Linked DNA regions of Homo sapiens: region 2 is linked to region 1. Evidence: promoter capture Hi-C in 16 types of primary human blood cells and fetal thymus (Javierre and others, 2016). All regions are on one chromosome and are shown on one strand. Each heading gives the region's core, a stretch centred on a gene start or on the middle of the fragment in contact. The rest is flanking DNA. Distances are from core to core; before and after follow the strand shown.

What was found. The method cuts DNA at HindIII sites, captures the fragments that hold promoters and counts their contacts. A CHiCAGO score of 5 or more calls a contact.
Region 2: a contact is called between a fragment that was not itself captured here and the fragment with the promoter of TLR8 in region 1, in 4 of 17 cell types (naive CD8 T cells, non-activated CD4 T cells, naive CD4 T cells and 1 more). The highest score is 8.5, in naive CD8 T cells.

The regions. Positions count from the first base shown.
Region 1 is chrX:12,903,364-12,908,157 of GRCh38, forward strand. TLR8 (toll like receptor 8) reads left to right here and starts at 3,257. Exons shown (of 2, transcript NM_138636.5): 1 at 3,257-3,346. The coding sequence starts at 3,344. It overlaps TLR8-AS1 (TLR8 antisense RNA 1), which reads right to left. Exons shown (of 5, transcript NR_030727.1): 4 at 2,827-2,888; 5 at 1-622. The HindIII fragment of the contact is 3,594 bases long and covers 1-3,372 here.
Region 2 is chrX:13,438,356-13,442,708 of GRCh38, forward strand. No RefSeq gene overlaps it. Among named protein-coding and RNA genes, the nearest start is that of LINC01203, 110 kb to the left of the region's middle. The HindIII fragment of the contact is 1,947 bases long and covers 404-2,350 here.

The DNA of each region.
Region 1 (4,794 bases), core at 2,007-4,506:
AGGACCTGGCAAAGTGGGCGTGACACCAACAAGTTGCATCCCAGAGGTGACCACAAAGCGCCCAGGATTTGCAAAGCTAAGGTCAAGTGGAGGCAGGAGGAGACAGTTTCAGGAAACACCTGTGGCCTATCTCACCCGTGTCTTCCCTGGCCAGGGAAGGGCAGCCGCTTAAAGGGGCCAAGGGAAGCTGCAGCGTGGCTCCTAAACATGGACGCACAGTAGCTGTCCTCTCAGGAGCTCTGCACCCCCACTTAAAACCAGGATCACAAGAGATTTGTGTAAAGGAAGCCTCTTGTGCATTTCTTCATCTGAATCGTTGACTTAAAAGTTTCTTCCACGTAAGTCCTTTCACTTTAGCTTTGTATATATTTAGCATTGATTTCACAACAAACAACTGATTCCAGGCACTTGGTGTTTTCCCAGACCTTGAGCTTTTTCCAGGGTTGCACGTTATTTCCATATGTGGTACTTCGCGGCAGCCCCAGTATGGGGAAGCCATTTGCTGCCTTATGAATTGTCTGGTCATCCACTCGAGAGGAAAGGGCTGTGTCCAGGGCTGGGGAAGGCCCCAAGAGTGGTTCTTCAGGCCTACTGTTGGCAACAGCCCAGGAATGTGTGAAGTCTGTAACAACAAGCGTAGTAATAATAATTCCAGCTCTGCTAGTTGAACGCTCACTTTGTGCCAGCTACTTTTCTAAGAGTTCCACGATATGAACAATTTAATCCTCAAAGCCAACATCTGAGAAAGATACTACTATTCTTATCCCAATTTGACAGATGAGAAAACTAAGGCTCAGAGAGGCTTGTCTGCTGGTGATTTGTGTGTCTGGGAAGTGCACGTTGTCTGGCAGGCTTGCCTGGCAGAAGCGGTTCATGACAGGTCTTCTCCATTTTGGAATCAAGATCTGTGTCAGCATGGATGGCAAGGGGAAGAGTAAGGAAAGATTGGTCTAGGAGATGCCCAGGAGCTTTTGGCCTCACAGTGCAGGGTGGGGAGAGCAGACCTGGCCACCAAGGACCAGTTTCTGGGCTTGGGCAGAAGCCAATCATCTGGCTACTTTACAAGCAGATGGAGCTTCTTCCTCTCAGTAACCTTCCTGCCCTGGTGTCAATTCCATTTTCATTTTCATCTTTTATGGTACTGGTTGTGTGGAGAAAACTGAAGGCTCATTTGGTATAAGTAAGTAACTCATTTTTATGAGTTTGCTTGACATAGATACTAGACTGTATGTGTGTATATATACATATAAACATGCATATGTACATAAAAAATATATATATATCATATATACATGATGATACACACACACACACACACACACACACACACACATATATATATATACGTATACAAGCATGCTTTACAAGGCCAATTGACTGGTCTACAATTGGCTGACACTTGGTGGCCTAGAAGCCAGGGTATGTGAGTCTCGCTTTTCTAGAAAGCTGACAAACTCTCCAGTTCCAAGGATCCTTGCTCAGTCAACGGCTGGAAGTCATTTTTACTTCGCTGTTTTTTGTTTGTTTGTTTGTTTGTTTTTTTAGACAAAGTCTCATTCTGTCACCCAGGCTAGAGTGCAGTGGCACTATCATGGCTCACTGCAATCTCCACCTCCTGGGCTCAAGCGATCCTCCCACCTCAGCCACCCGAGTAACTGGGACTACAGGTGCACACCACCATGCCTGGCTAATTTTTGTATTTTTTTAGAGACAAGGTTTTGCCATGTTGCCCGGGTTGGTCTCAAACCCCTGAGCACAAGTGATCCTCCTGCCTCGGCCTCTACAAAGTGCTGGAATTACAGGTGTGAGCCACTGCACTCGATCCATTCTTACTTACTTTCTTTACTTTATTTCCAAGCAAATGTTTGGAGGGAAACCAAGAGACTTGGATGCGGCCAGCCGAGGCCTTTGGGTTTACAATCACAAATGTTTTTGGTTTGCCCATGAAGGCCCAGGCTGCACTCTCTGATGTCACAGGAATCACCTCTCAAACCATGCACCAGGTCTTGAATTCCCTTAGGGTGTGATCTTTAGAGGTCCATCTAGGTATACCCACCCAAGCCATTCTTTGACTGCTGACAGGCCTTCCTTCATAACAAGGTGTTCCACAGTCCATTTATATATGGATGTCATCTCTGCCCACCCTGCTGCCAATTTGGTTTTCTCCCACTCCTGGGGTGTAAGGCAAGATGAAACATATCACATCCCGTTCTAAACTTTATTCTTGTGGCCAGGGGTCAGCAAACTTTTTCTGTAAAGGGCCAGATGGCAAATATCTTAGGTTTTACAGGCCAAGAAGCAAATTTGGCATATTATGTAGCTACTTATATAGTAAAATAAAAATTTCCACAATTATGTAATTGATGAAACTCAAAATGTAATAATAATAATCGAAGGCAGTTTTTTTGTAGTATAGGTTTAATAATGAGAAGAATGGAATCATTTTTGGAGGTGCTAACATTCTGCTTGGTTGGAATTTAAAGTTAGTGTTCTGTATCAGCAAATCCATTGCCAATGTTCATCTAAAAATGTTTTCACTTCTGGGCCGGATTTCGTTCAAAGGCTGCAGTTTGCTGACCTCTGCTCTTGGTTACACCTTTTGAGGCCCTTGCTCTCCGAGCATAAAATGGAATCCATTTATCAGACTAAATCGGGAAGATTAAATTTTCCAGCCTCACGAATGCTCAGCCATTGACTCACTCGTTCATACAATGAACACTCATTGAGCTTATACTACATGCCAGGTGCTGGAGGAGGCATGGGGCGCCCAGGAGAAAGATGCTCGCTTTGCGGCCACAGCCCAGTGGGAGGGAGACCCATACCTACCGGTGCTGTCTCAGAAACTTGTGGAACAAAGATGAAGCAATGTTCATGTTATTCGCCTACATCTGTGAATTACACAAGGAAGACGAGTTTGAGAAATCCGAAGTTCAGTACAAATTTATGGTAACTTTTTTAAAAAAGAATACACTGAAGTTTTCTTAGTGAATGGAATAATGTTCCCTTTTTCTCCCCTGTACACACAAATACACAAAAACTAACAAAAATACGTCGTGTGTGTCTGATTTGGGTTGTATTTAAATCATTTCATAAATGACTTTTTCCCATAACTTCAGTTTCAAAGTTTTAAAGCACAGTCAATTAATGATTTGGCAACAGCTAAGAAATCACAAGTTCCCTTCTTTTCATGTAAACTTCTGTAAAACACACGCTACGTTCTGCTGATGGTAAATAGAGCCATTTCAGGAAGTTAGCCAGTTTCTCTTCTCGGCCACCTCCTGCATAGAGGGTACCATTCTGCGCTGCTGCAAGTTACGGAATGAAAAATTAGAACAACAGAAACATGGTAAGCCACTTCTATTTCTTTAGCAAAGCTTTCCAACAGAATATGGGGTTTCTGACCCAGAAATCTGGGTTGGTGGCAAATGGTGTGAGCCTAGAAAGTAATAAATGGGCAAATAAGGATAAAAATTAAAGATCGAAACAACTGTAAATGCAGGTAAAGCGGCTTGCTATGATCTTTAATTTGTGCACACGTTAGTATAAAGGAATTAGAGAGTAAATTTTGAAAATCAAATGCAGTGATGATCTTACTAATTTGGACAGGAAAATAAGAAAATTTCAAGTTAGAAATTGAACTGGAAATATTACTTACTGGCCCTACCAGAGACAATATCCTCTTCCAGAACAACAGGGTTGGAAGAGAAGGTGAGGGAAATATTCTTCCTTTGCTATTTCTGTAGAAAAGGACAAACTCTCTTCCTTCACATACATAGGTCAATTGCTAGATCCTAGTGAAGCCTGAGCTTAACCTACTGTTGGAGGCTTAAAGTTCGACATTAATTGCTACTTTTCTTGGTCAGAGTTTTAAATAATTAGGTTGGTACAAAAAACTGTGATTACTTTTCCACCAACCTAATAACATGCTACAATTTCTGTAATTATTATTTTACACTGTCAAGACATAGCAGGTGGTCCGTTTTTGTTATTGTCAAGAACTGTCAGACTAAAAATGAACTTTACACTTCTTTTTAAATGATACATTTTCTAGAAAATTCAATGAGGTTTAAGAGCAATTGAAAAGTCTGATTTCAAGAGAGTCTCATCCAAAATGTACTATATATTTTTCCCCAAAGTCCTTGGAGTTAATTTTGACAACAATTTAAAGTACACTTAAGTCTTTTGAAGTTAATGGGTCTGCCACCCAGGTTGGAGTGCAGTGGCGTGATCTCAGCTCACTGCAACCTCCGCCTCCCGGGTTCAAGCGATTCTCCTGCCTCAACCTCCCAAGTAGCTGGGACTACAGGTGTGTGCCACCACGCCTGGCTAATTTTTGTATTTTTAGTAGAGACGGGGTTTCTCCATGTTGGCCAGGCTGGTCTCGAACTCCTGACCTCAGGTGATCCGCCTGTCTCAGCCTCCCAAAGTGCTGGGATTACAGGCATGAGCCACCGCGCCCGGCCTGAAGTTAATTTTTATACCCACCTAATGTTCATTATGGATCTTGAAGGTAAATTAATTCTGCACTAAAATTTTACAATGCTTTACAAAATGACTGTAGGTGGCCCATATGGAATTCGGTCAACTGGGCCAATGACACATATGGGATTGCAGTTGAAATTATCCAATTCCTACTTGATATTTGTAAGCTGCTGTGATAGCCAGTATAATTGTACTGTAAGAATGTGGTAAATAGCCGGGGCCCGGTGGCTCACGCCTATAATCCCAGCACTTTGGGAAGCCGACGTGGGCGGATCACTTGAGGTCAGTAGGTAGAGACCAGCCCGGTCAACA
Region 2 (4,353 bases), core at 127-2,626, 530 kb after region 1:
ATTTTAATTTGCAATCTTATTCCAGTGTTCTCTTTTAGATGAAGATATGTAGTCATTCATTTATTCATTTACCATTTCCTTTTGTCCTTGAACCTGTTGGTTCCCTCACTAGGGAATTAAATACATCTCTGACACATATTTGTTAAATATTTATATGAGACCATGTTTTTAACTTTTTTGAAAACTGTACTTGACGTTGTATAGCATTTGGCAAGCAATTCGAAGTGTGAACTAAAAAAACAAGTGTTACTTTAAAGCCTGACCGTAAGATTTCACTCCAGAGACAGCGCAATTTAAGCTAACCCCTAAGTAGGCATAATTGGCTATTAAGCAAAAGTCTCTGGGAATAAAAGTCAAAATGGTTTGGGATAAGATGATAAGATAAATTACTCAGGATGTTTAAAGCTTCGGGGTGCCTACAAGCTGAGAGGAAAAAGAAAGTCATCTAGAAATTCTTGAGAGAGGGCCCAGAAACATAGCAGGAGGCTAGAAGTGGGGTAAAGTGCTGGTTGGTGATGGCTCCTTGGTGCCAAGTAGAGGATAGGAGTTTTAAGGATGAGGTGTTCTAATATTACATTTTAAGTTGTTTGCTCTACTGGTCTGTGATGTAACCAACACACACACACACACACACACACACACACACACACACACACACAGCCATTGCCTATAGCATTCAGTAAAATCTATTATAAACAGATCCTTGACTTGGGAGCACTTGGATGGGGAAGGGAACAGGACCACTGAATTCAGAAATGAGTAGTCATGAACAGGGATGAATAACAGAGGGAGGTCAAGGATTCAGCAGAGGCCTAAGCACCAGAAAGGAGGGATGCTGGGCTTCCAAAATTATGTGGGCATTTTCACTTCAACCATACGATGCAAGCTGAAAGATTAGCAGACTTCCTCATGTTGACACTAGGGTTGTTCATGCAAATAGCATTGTTTCAGAACCAAATGTGTGGGAAAACTTTAAGAGTTCCACCCCACTGCACCAAAGGACTGAACCCTCTCTCCTTAGAGCTTAAAAGCACTTTTAGCATATTTAACTCCAACACTAAGGTGCATTATAAATATTTGTGTTTTATATGTGCTTATATGTGTATATGTGTACTAATGTGTGTGTGTGTGTGTGTGTGTGTGTGTTCCATAGTTTTTTCCTTTCCTGGACTAGGATATAAATTTCCCAAGGCAGAGACCACTTCTTCATTCATTTATCTTTCACTAGAGAATGTCATACAATGCCCTGAAGACACTCAATAAATGTTCGTTGAATGACTTACAAAGCCAGCCTTGACCTGGCTCATCTTCATTTCACTCCACCTCATCCCTAAGGACGAGAAACTCTAGTCTCTTTCTAGCGGGTCATAGACAACACCACATAATCCAGGCTGAAACTGCCTTGCTGGAAGCTCCCTAATTCTCTGGACTTGGTTTAATCTCACCTGGTAACAACTTATAAAATAGCTCAAAAAGTCAAGGGTCTCTTGCTTATCAATGCTCCTTCATTCTTTCTCTGATTCATTTTAGCCCATCTCTTGCTGTTACCGTGCCTTTATTCCTTTTCCTTTGCAAGAATTTTTAACACTTTTCTGTTCCTTTTGTCCTCATTATTCTGTTCCTTTTGTCCTCATTATATCCTCTCTGCTGTTATTTAGTTTTATCGTACATAATTTGTAGTCCGATGCAAAAATCCATCCCCCAAATCAACAGTCATTCATTCATTCAATCAGTCATTTATGCTGTATTTCTTCAGCACCTACTATGAATGTGTTGATAAAAAGAATAAAAATATAAACCTGGTCCCTGCTCTCATGGAATTTACAATATCATGAGGGATCTAAACATTAACTAATTAAATACACAAATCTGTGTATAATTGCAAACTGAACAAGAAGAAAGCAAAATTATTTTGTGGAGCTGACCTAGACCAGGGAATTCCCAGCAGTGGGAAGACTGTACTTAGGCCCTGCAGCAGGCAGGAGAAAGGAATGACTAAGGAACTGAACGGTTAATGTGGTGTGAACCTATAGAGCAAAACAACAAGGAAATATGGGCCAGATGTCGCTGAGTCTTACCATCATGCTAAGGATTAATATAAATGAGAAAGCTCAAATGCACTACAAAAGTAGTACAACTGCAACACTCATACAATTACTGAATGGCACTGCTTGCTTCAGAAGGAAGAGTTACTAGAGAGTAGAAATTCATCTCTGCATTTTTTTCTATGTAATTATGACAGATTTGCTTTCTTCCTTGTGTGAAAAAAGATTCTAGACAATTATTGGCTAACTTGCTCTGAAAGTACTCTGTTTTATTCTGGTATGTTTGAAATGCTCAGTAGGAAGAAAGCTTAAAACCCACTTACCACTTTTTAAGATTCAAATTGGCCTAGCATACTGTAAGATTATGGGCCCTAGCAAAATAGAGACTCCATACTGATTTCCTATTGATGAAGGAAGGGAAAGAAAATTAAACAAATTATTAACATCTTTACTAAGATAGTTTCTGTTTTCGTCCATTCAGGTTGTTATAACAATATACCTTAGACTGGGTAATTTATAAACAACAGAAATTTATTGTTCACAGTTCTGGAGGCTGAGAAGTTCAAGATCAAGGTGCCAGCAGATTCAGTATCTGGTGGAGGCCTGTTCCTCCTAAAGGGCACCTTACAGAGGCAAATGGGCTCCCTCTAGCCTCTCTTATAAGGGCACTAATCCCATCCATAAGGGCAGAGCCCTGATGACCTGATCACCTCCCAAAGGCCCCACCTCCTAATACTATCACATCGGGTATTAGATTCCAACATTTGAATTTGCAGGGGGTGGGGGGAACATTAACATTCAGACAATAGCAGTTTCTTTTGCTGATTGAAAGGTAATTATAACAAGATGAAATATGAACATTTTATATACATAGCATGACTTTGGTATGGTTTAGTGAAAACTCTAAGTGGGAGAGGAACAAATCCACATTCCCTGGTGACTTGGTCTGGACTAGGGAGGATCAATCTTTGTAATGTCACCCTTTTACCTATAAAGATGTGTCAGGAAGGAAATCTTAGCTAAAAATTCTTGATCATGTTTAAAATTTTTTTAATTTCACAGCTTCTACTGATTTTTTCTGCTGCTGGGGAGTCAACACTTGGTGTTGGAGGCTATTTTATTTATAGCAACACCTGGCTATGCAAAGTGTAACCCTAGAACCTACATGTGAGAAACAAAATTGTTCTGATTAATAAAGTAAAAGTCTGTGTACTAGTCTGTTCTCATGCTGCTAATAAAGACTTACCCAAGACTGGGTAATTTATAAAAGAAAGAGGCTTAATTGACTCACAGTTCAGCATGGCTGGGGAGGCCTCAGGAAACTTATAATCATAGCGGCAAGAAGAAGAAAAATGAGAGCCGAGCGAAGGGGGAAGTCCCTTATAAAACCATCAGATCCCATGAGAACTTACTATCATGAGAATAGCGTAAGGGAGACTGCCCCGATGATTCAGTTACCTCCCACTGGGTCCCTCCCACCACATGTGGGGATTATGGGAACTACAATTCAAGATGAGATTTGGGTGGGGACACAGTCAAACCATATCAGTCTGTCACCATTGAGGGCAAGGAAAATCCTGTGGACTGTATTGACTCTGAGAAAATGTTTTTCTTTCTTAAAATGTATCTGAAGTATAATGTCTATGATATACTTTGTTTATCCTTGGGAAACATGTTTTGTTCAAGAGCAATACACAGGGGGCCATAAGTAAGTCTGTGGAAATGTATTTTTACCTCATCCTAGGGAAGAGTGTCAAATGAGTGCTAAAGTCCATCCATTCTGGACTGTTCTACTAAAGCCCTGTACCCTCCTCTAGTGTTATTTAAACTGAGAAGGTCAGACTTGGGGGAACTATTTTGGTTTAGCATATTTTATCTATGGGCTACCCAGGTGGGAAATAACAACGGATTGTAAAATTAAACCAAACCTTATGAATTAAGAAAGGAGTTACCTTGGAATACGGGTGGTCGAGATTCATACAGTAAGTAAGAGAGGAGTTACCTTGGAATAGGGGTGTTTGAGATTCATACAGTAAGGAAAGGAAACTCTCTGAAGATGGAAGGAAAAGATTGAGATACTGGGCTGGGGACTGGGATGCCCAAATGGGATGCACAAATCTGCCATAAAGAGTTTAACATTTTGGTTTTCAGTGGACTCTCAGAAGAGTCGTATTAACTGTCAAAAAACAAAATTTCAACAAATTGAGTTTAATGGTCTAATTGGTTTTTATTAGTGATTCATGAATCAGGCAGTATCTCATCTATGAAAGAAAAGGGTGTTTCACCAGGCATGGCAGAACAGTTTGTT